Linked DNA regions of Homo sapiens: regions 2, 3 and 4 are each linked to region 1. The links are contacts of gene promoters, found by promoter capture Hi-C in blood cells and fetal thymus (Javierre and others, 2016). All regions are on one chromosome and are shown on one strand. The core of a region is centred on a gene start or on the middle of the fragment in contact, and the rest is flanking DNA. Distances in the headings are between cores, read along the strand shown.

What was found. Contacts are between HindIII fragments. The CHiCAGO score rates a contact against its expected background, and 5 or more counts as called.
Region 2: a fragment that was not itself captured here is called in contact with the fragment with the promoter of PIGO in region 1 in 1 of 17 cell types (M2 macrophages); the score reaches 5.5 in M2 macrophages.
Region 3: a contact is called between the fragment with the promoter of SIT1 here and the fragment with the promoter of PIGO in region 1, in 6 of 17 cell types (neutrophils, non-activated CD4 T cells, M1 macrophages and 3 more). The highest score is 7.0, in neutrophils.
Region 4: a fragment that was not itself captured here is called in contact with the fragment with the promoter of PIGO in region 1 in 1 of 17 cell types (megakaryocytes); the score reaches 5.5 in megakaryocytes.

Annotation. Positions count from the first base shown.
Region 1 is chr9:35,095,341-35,098,176 of GRCh38, forward strand. PIGO (phosphatidylinositol glycan anchor biosynthesis class O) reads right to left here and starts at 1,251. Exons shown (of 11, transcript NM_032634.4): 1 at 815-1,251; 2 at 1-226. The coding sequence starts at 225. It overlaps PIGO-AS1 (PIGO antisense RNA 1), which reads left to right and starts at 964. Exons shown (of 2, transcript NR_186491.1): 1 at 964-1,080; 2 at 2,420-2,804. RefSeq lists an enhancer at 918-1,257. The HindIII fragment of the contact is 7,045 bases long and covers 1-2,836 here.
Region 2 is chr9:35,716,604-35,719,439 of GRCh38, forward strand. TLN1 (talin 1) reads right to left here. Exons shown (of 57, transcript NM_006289.4): 16 at 2,471-2,679; 17 at 2,209-2,307; 18 at 1,016-1,183; 19 at 543-837. Among named protein-coding and RNA genes, the nearest start is that of MIR6852, 7.3 kb to the left of the region's middle. The HindIII fragment of the contact is 7,135 bases long and covers 1-2,836 here.
Region 3 is chr9:35,649,345-35,652,180 of GRCh38, forward strand. It overlaps SIT1 (signaling threshold regulating transmembrane adaptor 1), which reads right to left and starts at 1,587. Exons shown (of 5, transcript NM_014450.3): 1 at 1,410-1,587; 2 at 1,158-1,293; 3 at 1,013-1,071; 4 at 840-901; 5 at 1-737. The coding sequence starts at 1,509. The coding sequence ends at 504. RefSeq lists an enhancer at 338-387 and a silencer at 1,298-1,367. The HindIII fragment of the contact is 5,575 bases long and covers 336-2,836 here.
Region 4 is chr9:35,631,339-35,634,174 of GRCh38, forward strand. It overlaps a transcript of CD72 not described here. Among named protein-coding and RNA genes, the nearest start is that of CD72, 14 kb to the left of the region's middle. The HindIII fragment of the contact is 1,338 bases long and covers 717-2,054 here.

The DNA of each region.
Region 1 (2,836 bases), core at 1-2,500:
TATCAGCACCAACACAACCCGCGAAAATCGGGAAGCCATCCAGCAGGCCCCAGGTTTCCCTTGGCTCCCCCATGGCAGGGACCCAGGGCCTGGGGGCTCTTGGCAGCTGCTATGGTTGGTGAGCTCCAAACGGGTGAGCAGGAAGCCACTGGTGAAGAGGGCAATGCCAGCGTAGAAGAGGAAGCAGACCCAGGCCAGGAAGAGCAACACTGAGGCTTTCTGCATCCTGATAGGGGTGGGGAAGTAAATTCATTACTGTGGGGCAAAGAACCAGTGGATATTCTGGTCCCTGAATACAAGCCCAGCTAGAATCACTTCCTCCCGGAAACCTTCCTGGAGATAAACCATTTCACAGCCAACCCCTCGCAATATTACTCTCCTCCTATTTCCAGGCTGGGCATGGTGGCTCACGCCTGTAATCCCAGCACTTTGGGAGGCCGAGGCGGGCGGATCACCTGAGGTGAGGAGTTCGAGACCAGCCTGGCCAAAATGGCGAAACCCCGTCCCTACTAAAAATACAAAAATGGGTGGCGGGCACCTGTAGTCTCAGCTACTGGGGAGGCTGACGCAGGAGAATCGCTTGAATCGGGGAGGCGGAGGTTGCAGTGAGCCGAGATTGAACCACTGCACTAGAGTCTGGACAACAGAGGGAGACGCCGTTTCATGAGGTCCCACCCCAGATCTACTGAATCAGGATCTTCGAGGGGTAGAGCATAGGAACGTTCACATGTACAGGCAGGAAATGCTAATGCTGCCTGTACATGTGAACAGTCAGGAGGGAAACTTATTCCAATTGGTAGTCAGGCTCTCTTACACGCCGTTTCTGCGCCTCTCCCCTCGCCAATCTCAATACCCAGTGGAAAGGGATCGAAGCCGCAGGGGAATCCGGGCCCAGCCGACGGCGCCGCCTGGCGGGCACCGAGGGGACGAAGGGGAGGAGTCACTCTCCGCTTCCGGGCGGCCAGGTTCGCCAGGAGACCTGAGGCACGACCTTCGCCACGCAAGGAGGCTGGGGCCCGGGTCGAGAGTCGACTGGGCCTCCGCTGGGACCCAGGCGTGCGACCGGCTCTGCCTCCTCCGGTAACTACCCAGCCTCCCGCTGGGCACCCTAGCCGCGGTACTGAGCACCTTGGTTAGGAGCTGAGGGGAAGAGGGAGACTCCCTTACTTCAGGGTGAGGGGAATACCGGGGGGTGAGGTTCTCGGGAGACCCTGGCTCACCTGCAATGGCACCCGGAAGTGCGGCGGCGGCGGCGCCTGCGACCTGGCAGCACAGAGATGCGTGCGCCAGACAGAGTGGCCCGTCGGTGGCTCCATCGCCATCTGCCGGCACCTCGGTGGAAGTTTGGCCAGGAGCGTGGGGCTGGCCCCAGTTTGATGGGATATTTAGTAATTGAAAATTGGGGACAGGGGACCAAGCTGGAGGAAGAGTTCAGGGAACCACTGTCCATTCATGGTTACGACTAAGAGCACGGCTGCTGGAGTCAAACTTGACTTGAATCCTAGCTTGGCCGCACATATTGTCATCATTAGGCATTACCTCATCTGTAAAATGGAGATAATACTTATTTTCCCTTTTTTGCTTAGCTGAGTCCAACTGAGATTTCATTACTCCTCCTTTCAAAGCCTGTAACTAAATCTTACGACTGAATAATTAAGCAAATAATCCTTCGGAGTGGAGGAGGGGAGGCTGGGCCCAGTGGTTCACACCTGTAATCCCAGCACTTTGGGAGGTCAAGGCAGGTGGATCACCTAAGGTCAGGAGTTCAAGACCAGCCCGGCCAATATGACGAAACGCCGTCTCTACTGAAAATACAAAAGTTACCCGGGAGTGGTGGCGGGCGCCTGTGATCCCAGATACCTGGGAGGCTGAGGCAGGAGAATCACTCGAACCCAGGAGGCAGAGGTTGCAGTGAGCCGAGATTGCACCACTGCACTCCAGCCTGGGCAACAGAGCAAGACTCCCTCTCAAAAAAAAAAAAAAAAATGCCAGGCACGATGACTCACACCTGTAAGCCCAGCACTTTGGGAGGCTGAGGCTGGAGAATCAGTTGAAGTCAGGAATTGGAGACCAGCCTGGCCAACATGCTGAAACCCCAACTCTACTAAAAATTACAAAATTTAGCCAGGCGTGGCGATGTGTACCTGTAGTCCCAGCTACTGAGGAGGCTGAGACTGGACAATTGCTTGAAGCCAGGAGGCAGAGGCTACAGTGAGCTGAGATCGTGCTACTGCACTCCAGCCTAGGCAACAGAGCAAGACTCTGTCTCAAAAAGAAACAAAACCCGTCCACTGGTTTCTCATCTCAGAGTAAAAGTTCTTGCATTGGCTCTACATGGCCCTGCACACTATCTGCCTCTTCCCCTTCTGATTCATCTAGCTGCCACTTCTTTGCTTCCCTAACTCTGTTCCATCCACAGCAGTTCTGCCTCAGGACCTTTGCATTTGCCATCTCCTCTGTCAGCTTCAGTTCCCGATGCCGAAATGGATCTCCATCACCTTCATATTGAAGCTCAACTGTAACATCAGCAAGGCTTCCTGCAATCCCCTACTTTACTAGTTCAGCACCTCCCACCACCACACCCCCTGGAAAAATTTCCCCTCACTTCCTTAATTTCTTCCATAGCACAACTCATCAGCATCTGAAATTCTACACGTATTTATGGTTTATCCCCTCCGAGTAGAATGTGAGCTCATTGAGGTCAGGGAATTCTGTTTTCTTCATGATATCCTCAGCACCTAGCATATATTTGAGGTTCACATACTGACCAAACGAATAAAGGAATATGTTAATTTTTAAAAAAAGTTGAGTTATTCTTCCACCTTCATCCCCATAG
Region 2 (2,836 bases), core at 235-2,734, 620 kb after region 1:
TGTCAGGGGTGGGGACAAAGGTGGGGAAAAGTGGTGTAGACAAGGTAGATGGGGGCTTTAGGGACAGAAAAAGAGACTGGCAAAAGCTCTTGCATCATTTCTTTGGGGCTATTTTTTTTCTGGGTTTAGGATCTTGGAGAAAAAGATTCTCCAGTGGGTTCTTACGGGAGAAGGACAGTCTCCAATGGGTATTTTCAGCCAGTAGCCTTGAGAAGATGAGACACTCTCTGAAAACTTTTGGGGTCAGGGGTATAGTAGGGAAGGCTATACCACTTTCATGTCACTTTCTATATATTTTTGTGCGTACTTTGGTATATTCTTTAAATGCTCCAGGGAAGGTAGAGGACTTAATATTCCTTTTACAGAAGGGGAAGCAGAGGGTTCAGAGAGCTTTAATGATGAGCCTATGGTTGTGTGGCTGGCAAGCCCACACTGTGCTGAGTTCCTTGGGGTGAAGTGGTTAGGTCCGCAAGGGGATGATGTCCAGTGGGCTTAGGGAACCCTGGTAGGGTTTTTTGTTTTCCTGGGGGTGCGTGTCTTACCAGCATCACCCATGGAGCTAAAGATGTTCTCAGTGACGGTTAGGATGGTGTCAGTAGCCTGGTCATAACGGCCAGCAGGCCCAGCCCCTGTGGCATGGGCTTTCACATGCTGCAGCAGCTCATTTAGGGCCTGGGTGACAGCTGTGGCTGCTGCTCCTACCCCTCGCAACAGTTGCCCATCCTCTGTAGCTGCCTGGGAGGCAGACACACAGCCCTCCACGGCTTTGGCTACCAGTCGTCCAGCCTCCACCAGTTGCTCTTGGCAGACAGGTGAGCTGATTGTAGGTGCCACCACCTGTAGGTAAAGTGAATGTCAGAGACGTAGGCAAGGGAAAGGAGGTAGAGTATGCTGCTCATAGCAGTAACTGGGATGGGTGAGGAGGCCTCCAGAGCCAAAGAAATAAAATGAAAGGCTCACGTGTGTGTGGTAGTATTACCCCTCAGCACGGACTAGAGCAACCTTTGGGGCTCACCTTAGTACAGGCCACTAGTTGGGAAGTGGATAGGGCACACTGTGTTGCTGCAGCAATAACTTGGGTCTGAAGTCCCGAGTCCTCTGTCCGCTGGGCCACACTCTTGGCCTTGAGGACCAGGGCAGCTGCAGCACTTGCCACAGCTTTGGCGAGCTGCATTAGCGCATCCTGTGAGAAAACAGCAGTTAGCATGACCTGAGATTGGGCTTGGGATTCACAGACACTTCTCAGAGGCGTAAGCTGCTTCATTATTCCCACTGATCCAATCAAAGGAGAGTGTACGCAGAAGCAACCAGAACCTACCCCGAGCTACTGCCCTGAGCACCCAGCAGGACAGAACCCCCACCGAGGAACAAACCCACACCAAGAGAAAATACAGCCTACACCAAATGGAGACACACATGAGGCGGATACACTCGATGATGACGGGGAGACAATGTGGTGGCGCTGTTACAATGGGGTGGGGAGAGGAGGTAGGAGGTATCTCCTGGGATCCCTCCACCCCCAGCTTCTTTACTCCACTTCTTGATCTTGGATTGGAAGTGGTCATCCTGGAGTCTTGGGAGCAAGTCCCTGTACTACCCTACCTGATCCCATTTCCCAAAGCCTGGCTTCGCCAGGCCTCCTCATCTCCCACCAAGTTCTGGTCCCCCAGGAGGCTGAGGAAGAAGTACAGAAACGAGTGTATGCGGCTCAGAGAGGACAAAGCTGGGAAGGCCCAGGCCAGAGGCTGTTACCGTAGGGGAATCGGGGGGAGATCGAACCCCAGCCCCTCTGGATGCACATATCTGCATGGGAAATCCAGGGTGAAAAGTCAGCTGAGGAAATTGGCATGGAGCGGGAAGGGGGAGAGCTAGAGGAACACTATTCTCAGGGTGGCATGGTCTATAGCATTGTGGGGGGTCCTCAAATTGGGGCAAGGGCTATGTACGGGGAAGAGAGAGAAAAGATGACAAGGGGCTAAAGAATAAATGAGGGCCAAGAGTAAACTAGCAGGTTAAGTTTGGATTCAGGGGTTCTGAATTCTAACCCCTAAAAGAGAGATCAGAAGTTACTAGTATCATCCCCTGGAAATAGAGGTTCAGATTGGTTTTTAGGGGTCAATTCACAGAAGCCAGGACTAGGAACTGGATTCACGAGCAGAAGTTACTTCCTAGATTCTGGGGTTCTGGGGGGTTGGGTAAGTCACCAACCTGGAAGTGGGGGTCAGTATCACTTTCCCCAATTTGTTGCAACAGCTCCCCACTGGCCTGGCCCACGTTCCCAGCTGCTTGCAGCAGGTTCTGACGGGGCTGTGGAGAGTGAACACCAGTCAGAAGCTGCCCAATCCCTGCCCACATGCCTGTGCATATCACAGGCCCACGGGACCCAGGCTTCCATCCTGTGGCTTGGACTGCCCCTTCTCCTTGGGCTTGAACCCTGTCTCCACCCTAACCCAAACCTGTGGCCCCTGACCTCAGCACTGGCTGGTTGGGCACTGCGCAGCAGTTCTGACACTGCTCCCGCAAGGCCCTTTGCTGCCTGCAACAGGGGCCGACCACTGCCGCCTTCGTCCTCCAGCAAGGCAGCCAGCAGCTTCACCCCACGGGACATCTCCGTCAGGTTGGAGGAGATTGTGGTGACTGCACAGCCCACTGCGGTATAGTCTGTCTCAGCAGGGTCCCCTAAGGGGAAAAGGAGAAAGAGGAACATGAGAGACAGGGCAGGCCAGACGAAGGGCTGGGGAGGGAGCAAAGTCACACCCAGTTAGTCACACACATGTCCACAGAAAGACGCACACACACAGTCCCTTCCACAGTGAGTCAAGGCACAGTCACACAT
Region 3 (2,836 bases), core at 337-2,836, 550 kb after region 1:
AGGATGGAGACTGTATTCTCCTGCTAGGGTTCTTAGGTCAAAAGCCAGGCTCGGGTCCCTCCCGTCTCTAAGTTCCAGGTCCACTCCAGTCTGTGGACTCCTGAGGAATATACCCACCCACCCACTGTCAGGCCCTTACCCCTCCCCCACCGCCCACTTCCTGTGCCTGAGGAGACACTGAGGCGTGGGGGTAGACTATGAGGGAGCGGGGGTGGGGAGGATCTGGTTAAACTCCAGAAGAAGGAAGTGAGAACCTGGGAGTTTGGGGGCTAAGAGGAACAGATAGAAAAAAGAAATAAGGAGGGGGCTACTGTCTTTGCCTCCTCCATCACGAAAGCTTTGCCCTGAGATGTCTCCCTTGAAGCTCAGATAGGAAGTCCGGGGTAGATCACATCCTGTGACTTGGCAATGGCGCCCGTCTTTGGGTGCTGGTTGGGAAACAGTCATGCCCCTGCTACGGGGGGCTGGGGCAGTGCACGCCCCGCTGTGCCAGGCCCTCCATCTCAGCTGGCTGCAGGCTGGCTGTTGGCATAGGCCTGATCCGGGAAGGAGGCCCGGGCCCTGCGGGTCTGGGCACATACTGAGGCATAGAGCTCCGGCTCGGGGCCCGAGGCCTGGGACTTTGGCTCAGAGTCCAGCACCACCTCCGAGTACTTGACGGGGGTTCCAGGACCGGGGATCCGACCCTGAGGAGGCCGCAGCTGCAGGCTGGTATAGCACATCACCTCCTCTGCAGCCTGGAGATGCAAGGCTGTTAGAAGTTCACTGGACCCTCGGAAAAGCCCGAAAAGCCCCCCACTTCCTTCCCTCCCCCTTTTCTCCAGCCACAGTTGACTCACCCTGGCAGGGCCTCCAAGAGTTGGATCCTGCTGGTCTGGCTCTGGGTCTTGAGACAGCCGTCCTGGGACGGGGAACAGGAATCTGGTCAGCAACTTGTCCTTCCTCCTGCACGCCCCCATCCCAGCCACCCAGGACCTGGCCTCTGTGCCCCTCCTCTCTGCCAGCTCCCTACCTGTCTGTAGATAATGCAGGTTCCCATACAGCGGGACCTCTTCCACAGACTCTCCAGAGCTGCAACGCAGAGTTTAGGGGATGAGTGGGGACTTCTCGGTAAGAGAGAACTCTCAGTCAACCCATCCCTGTTGTCCTTCACCCACCGTCCCTGCCCCGGATGGCTCCTGCTCCGGCCCCTGGTCCACTGGGACAAGTGTGCAGCCAGCGAGATGAGAAATAGCAGCGTCACAGCCCCTAAGAGGACCCACAGTCCCCAGGCCTGGGTTATGGAGGGGATTCCTGTGGATGTGAAAGGAAGGGGGGTGTAACAGCCCCGCCCCACCCCCAGGGCCCAGCAGGTGGGACCTGGGGCCACATGACCCCTCCCCCACCAGCCCCTGCCCTGCCCAGCTCACCCAGTGCGAGTAGATCCGTGCAGTTGTCGCCTCTGCTCATGGCTGCAGATGTGAGAGTCCACAAGCACACTGCTCTGAGCCGAGGGTCAGCCTGGTTCATGGCCTGACGGTTTCCACAGCACTTCTTACTCCCATCCCTCCTCAGGCCCGTACCCCGCAGCTCAGCATCCCCAATACTGGTGGTGGCAAAGTCTCTGGTTTCCGGGGAGGAAGGGGGAGGGGAGGGATGAAAAAAAGAACAAAGACCCCGCCCTGTGCCTGCACCTGCGCCACTCCTGCAGCTCCTGAGCTTCCCCCACCCTCGCTGCCCAGGCCCTTTGCCCCCCTTGAGAAGAGAAGCAGGCCTGTGGGTAATGTGCCACGGGCAGTTGAGTCCCTGAGGACTCTGAGGGCGGGGGGTGGGGGCAGAAGTGGTGTGAAGCAGGACTAACAAGGACAGGAACACCCCTTCTGCTCCAGGATGCCCACCTTCCTCCCTGACTCTGGTCCCAGAAGAAAGATGTATTCCTCAATGAGTATGGTATAAAGTGGAAGGGTCGGGGGAGCCTCCTGGTACCTCTGATCCCATCACACCCTAAGGCTGATCTGAGAGGATATGTGTTTAGATGATGCTTGTTATTGTTTCATTGGGGGCATTATAATTTGGGGGACACCCCCAAACCTCCCCTTTCAACCCACTTCATCCAAACTGTCTGTAAGAACTGTCACTCTCAATAATTAATTGCATTTTAAAACTCTTTGCTGTAGGACTGTCCTGGGAAACTGAGCCCTATCTTGCACATGTTCACTTCAGCGGGTGTAGTACCTGCCATACCTAGAGCTAACTCCATCACGTGCAAGGCTATTGATGTAGGAAGAGGGATTTTAAGTTGCAAATATAAACCTGAGACCAGAAGTCAGAGATGTGTTTTGTCTAGCCCATACAACATTTTTTAAAAGTTTAAAATCAGTGCAGTGGCATGCCAACAATAGGGATGGCAGAAGTCCTGCCCCTTGAGTTGCAGGCAATAAGGGGGTGCATTGTCTGTAGAGAATTTAAAAAATAAAAATCAGTCCTCTTATTATCACCATGTTCCAGAAATTCTGAAAAAAAAAATCAGTGATAAAATTATCCTCCCTGAAAAATATTTTATGGATCTAAGTTTTATATTTTTTTTGAGACAGGGTCTTACTTTGTCTCCCAGGTTGGAGTGCAGTAACACAATCTCAGCTCACTGCAGCCTTGACGATCTCCCGGGCTCAAGTGATCCTCCCATCTCAGCCACCTAAGCAGCTAGGACTACAGGCATGTGCCACCACACCCAGCTAATCTAGTTCATTTTTTGTAGAGATAGGTCTCCCTGTGTTGCCAGGCTGGTCTCAACTCCTGACCTCAAGCAACCTGCCCACCTCGGTCTCCCAAAGTGCTGGAATTACAGGCATGAGCC
Region 4 (2,836 bases), core at 136-2,635, 540 kb after region 1:
ACTTCCAAGATATGTCAAATAATAAGGATAATAGCAGGCATTTCTGTCTAAATTTTTATTTTAATTGAAGTGGTTTCAGTGTTTCACCATTGAGAACCATATTTGCTTTTAGGTTTTAGTAACTAGTCTTTATTATATTTAAGCAGTTTTCCTCTTTTTCTTTTTTACTTAGAGTTTTTTTGGGAATAGTATCAAGATGTACTAGCTTTACAATTAAATCTTGGAGCCTTTCTTCGTTTTCTATACTCTTGACCAGTTTAAACGGCATAGAACGGCTGGGCGCGGTGGCTCACGCCTGTAATCCCAACACTTTGGGAGGCCGAGGCGGGCGGATCACGACGTCAGCAGATCGAGATCCATCCTGGCTAACACGGTGAAACCCCGTCTCTACTAAAAATACAAAAAATTAGGCGTGGTGGTGGGCACCTGTAATCCCAGCTACTCGGGAGGCTGAGGCAGGAGAATGGCGTGAACCCGGGAGACGGAGCTTGCAGTGAGCCGAGATCGCCGAGCCACTGCACTCCAGCTTGGGCTACAGAGCCAGACTCCACTCAAAATAAATAAATAAATAAATAAAAATAAATAAATGGCATAGAAATTATTATTTAAGGTTAGAAAAAACTCATATCTGGTGCCATGTGAATGCAGTATTTCCCAAAAGGAGTCTCTCATCACCTTCCTATTGCAGTCTTTTCTAAAATAAGTTGGGCTCTTCAAGCTTTCCTCTTTCTCCTGGGTCAATTTTGGTAATTTATATATTTCTTGAAAGATATCCATTTCCTCTAAATTTTCAAATTGGTTGATTTTCAGTTGTACTGTTTTATAATTCTTCAATTTTCTCCTCTTTTTTTTTTTTTGAGACGGAGTATCGCTCTGTCACCCAGGCTGGAGTGCAGTGGCGCGATCTCGGCTCACTGCAAGCTCCGTCTTCCGGGTTCACGCCATTCTGCCTCAGCCTCCCGAGTAGCTGGGATTACAGGTGCCCACCACCACGCCTAATTTTTTGTATTTTTAGTAGAGACGGGGTTTCACCGTGTTAGCCAGGATGGTCTTGACCTCCTGACCTCGTGATGCGCCCGCCTCGGCCTCCCAAAGTGCTGGGATTACAGGCTTGAGCCACTGTGCCCGGCCTTCTCCTCTATTTGTAAGAATGTTTTCTTTCTCATAACTAATCTTGTCTATTTAATCTTTCTCTCTTTTTCCCCCTTTAATTTGGCTTGCAAGAGGTTTATTTTATTAGCTTTTTTTTTTTTTTCGAGAGGGAGCCTTACTCTGTCGCCCAGGCTGGAGTGCAGTGGCACCATCTCGGCTCACTGCAACCTCTACCTCCTGGGTTCAAACGATTCTCCTTCCTCAGCCTCCCAAGTAGCTGGGGTTACAGGTGTCTGCCACTGCACCCTGCTAATTTTTGTATTTTTTAGGAGAGACAGGTTTTCACCGTGTTGGCCAGGCTGGTCTCAAACTCCTGACCTCAGGTGATCTGCCTGCCTCAGCCTACCAAAGTGCTGGGATTTCAGGCACGAGCCACTGTGCCCAGCCTTATTAGCTCTTTTAAAAGACAATTTTTTGGATTTATTTATCCTTTTTAGTTTTTTTTTTTTTTTCTTTTTGAGACAGGGTGTGGCTCTGTTGCCCTGGCTGGAGTGCAGTGGTGCAATCTCAGCTCACTGCAACCTCCACCTCCTGGGCTCAATCTAACCTCCCATCTCAGCCTCCCAAGTAGCTGGGACTACAGGCGTACACCACCATGCCTGGCTAATTTTTGTACTTTTTTTTTTTTTTCTTCAGAGATGGGGTTTCACCATGTTGCCCAGGCTGGTTTCGAACTCCTAAGCTCAAGTGATTCTCCCGCCTTGGCTTCCCAAAGCGCTGGGATTACAGGCATGAGCCACTGTGCCTGGGCCTTCTTAGTATTTTTGTTTTTTGTTTTTTTTTTTTCATTTCATTAGTGTTAGCTTTAGTTATTATTTTCTGATTTGATTTCTTTTCTTATTCTTTTCATAATTTCTTGAAATAAGTGCTCCCTTTATTTTTCCTGTGCGTGTGTTGTTTAAAGCTTGCTATCTTTTTGACAGTATAATATATGATACAGGGTAATTGAGAGAGTTTCTCATGTTACGCTGTTTTCTCATTTCACATTTTTATTTTGTGAACATAGTATTTTCATTCTTTTTTTAAAAACCAGTTTTATTGCATTGTAATTTATATACAACAAATTGATCCATTTTAAGTGTACAATCCTATGAGTTTTGACAAGTGTATTCAGTTGTGTAATTACCACCACAATTAAGATACAAAACCTTCCTATCTCTCCCAAAATCCTCCTATCCCTTTGCAGGAAGTCTTCTCCCACCTCCCCCAGCCCGTAACTTAAATTTCTCTTGTTTGATATCAGTACAGATGTTCCTTGACTTAGGATGGGACTACGTTCCGAAAAACCCATCATAAGTAGAAAGTAATGTTAGTCGAAAATGCATTTAATACCCTGATAAACCCATCGTAAAGTCAAAGAATCCTAAGTTAAACCATTGTTAAGTCGGGGATTGTCTGTATATAGCCTCTGGTTTTTAAAATAATATTTAATATTTGCCTGGTATCTCTTTCCATGTCTTTATTTTAAAACTTTATCACTTTAAGTGTGTTTCTCTTAAGTAATGTGTGCCTAAATTTGATTTATAACAAAATCTGACAGTCTTTTAATGGTAGATTTCAGTCCGCTTTTATTTACTGTAATGAGTGATGTATTTGATTTTCTTATTTCCATCTTACTTGTTTTAAAGTTTTTTTATATTGTTGTTAACTCTTCTTTTTTTTAATCTTTGCTAGATTAAATAAA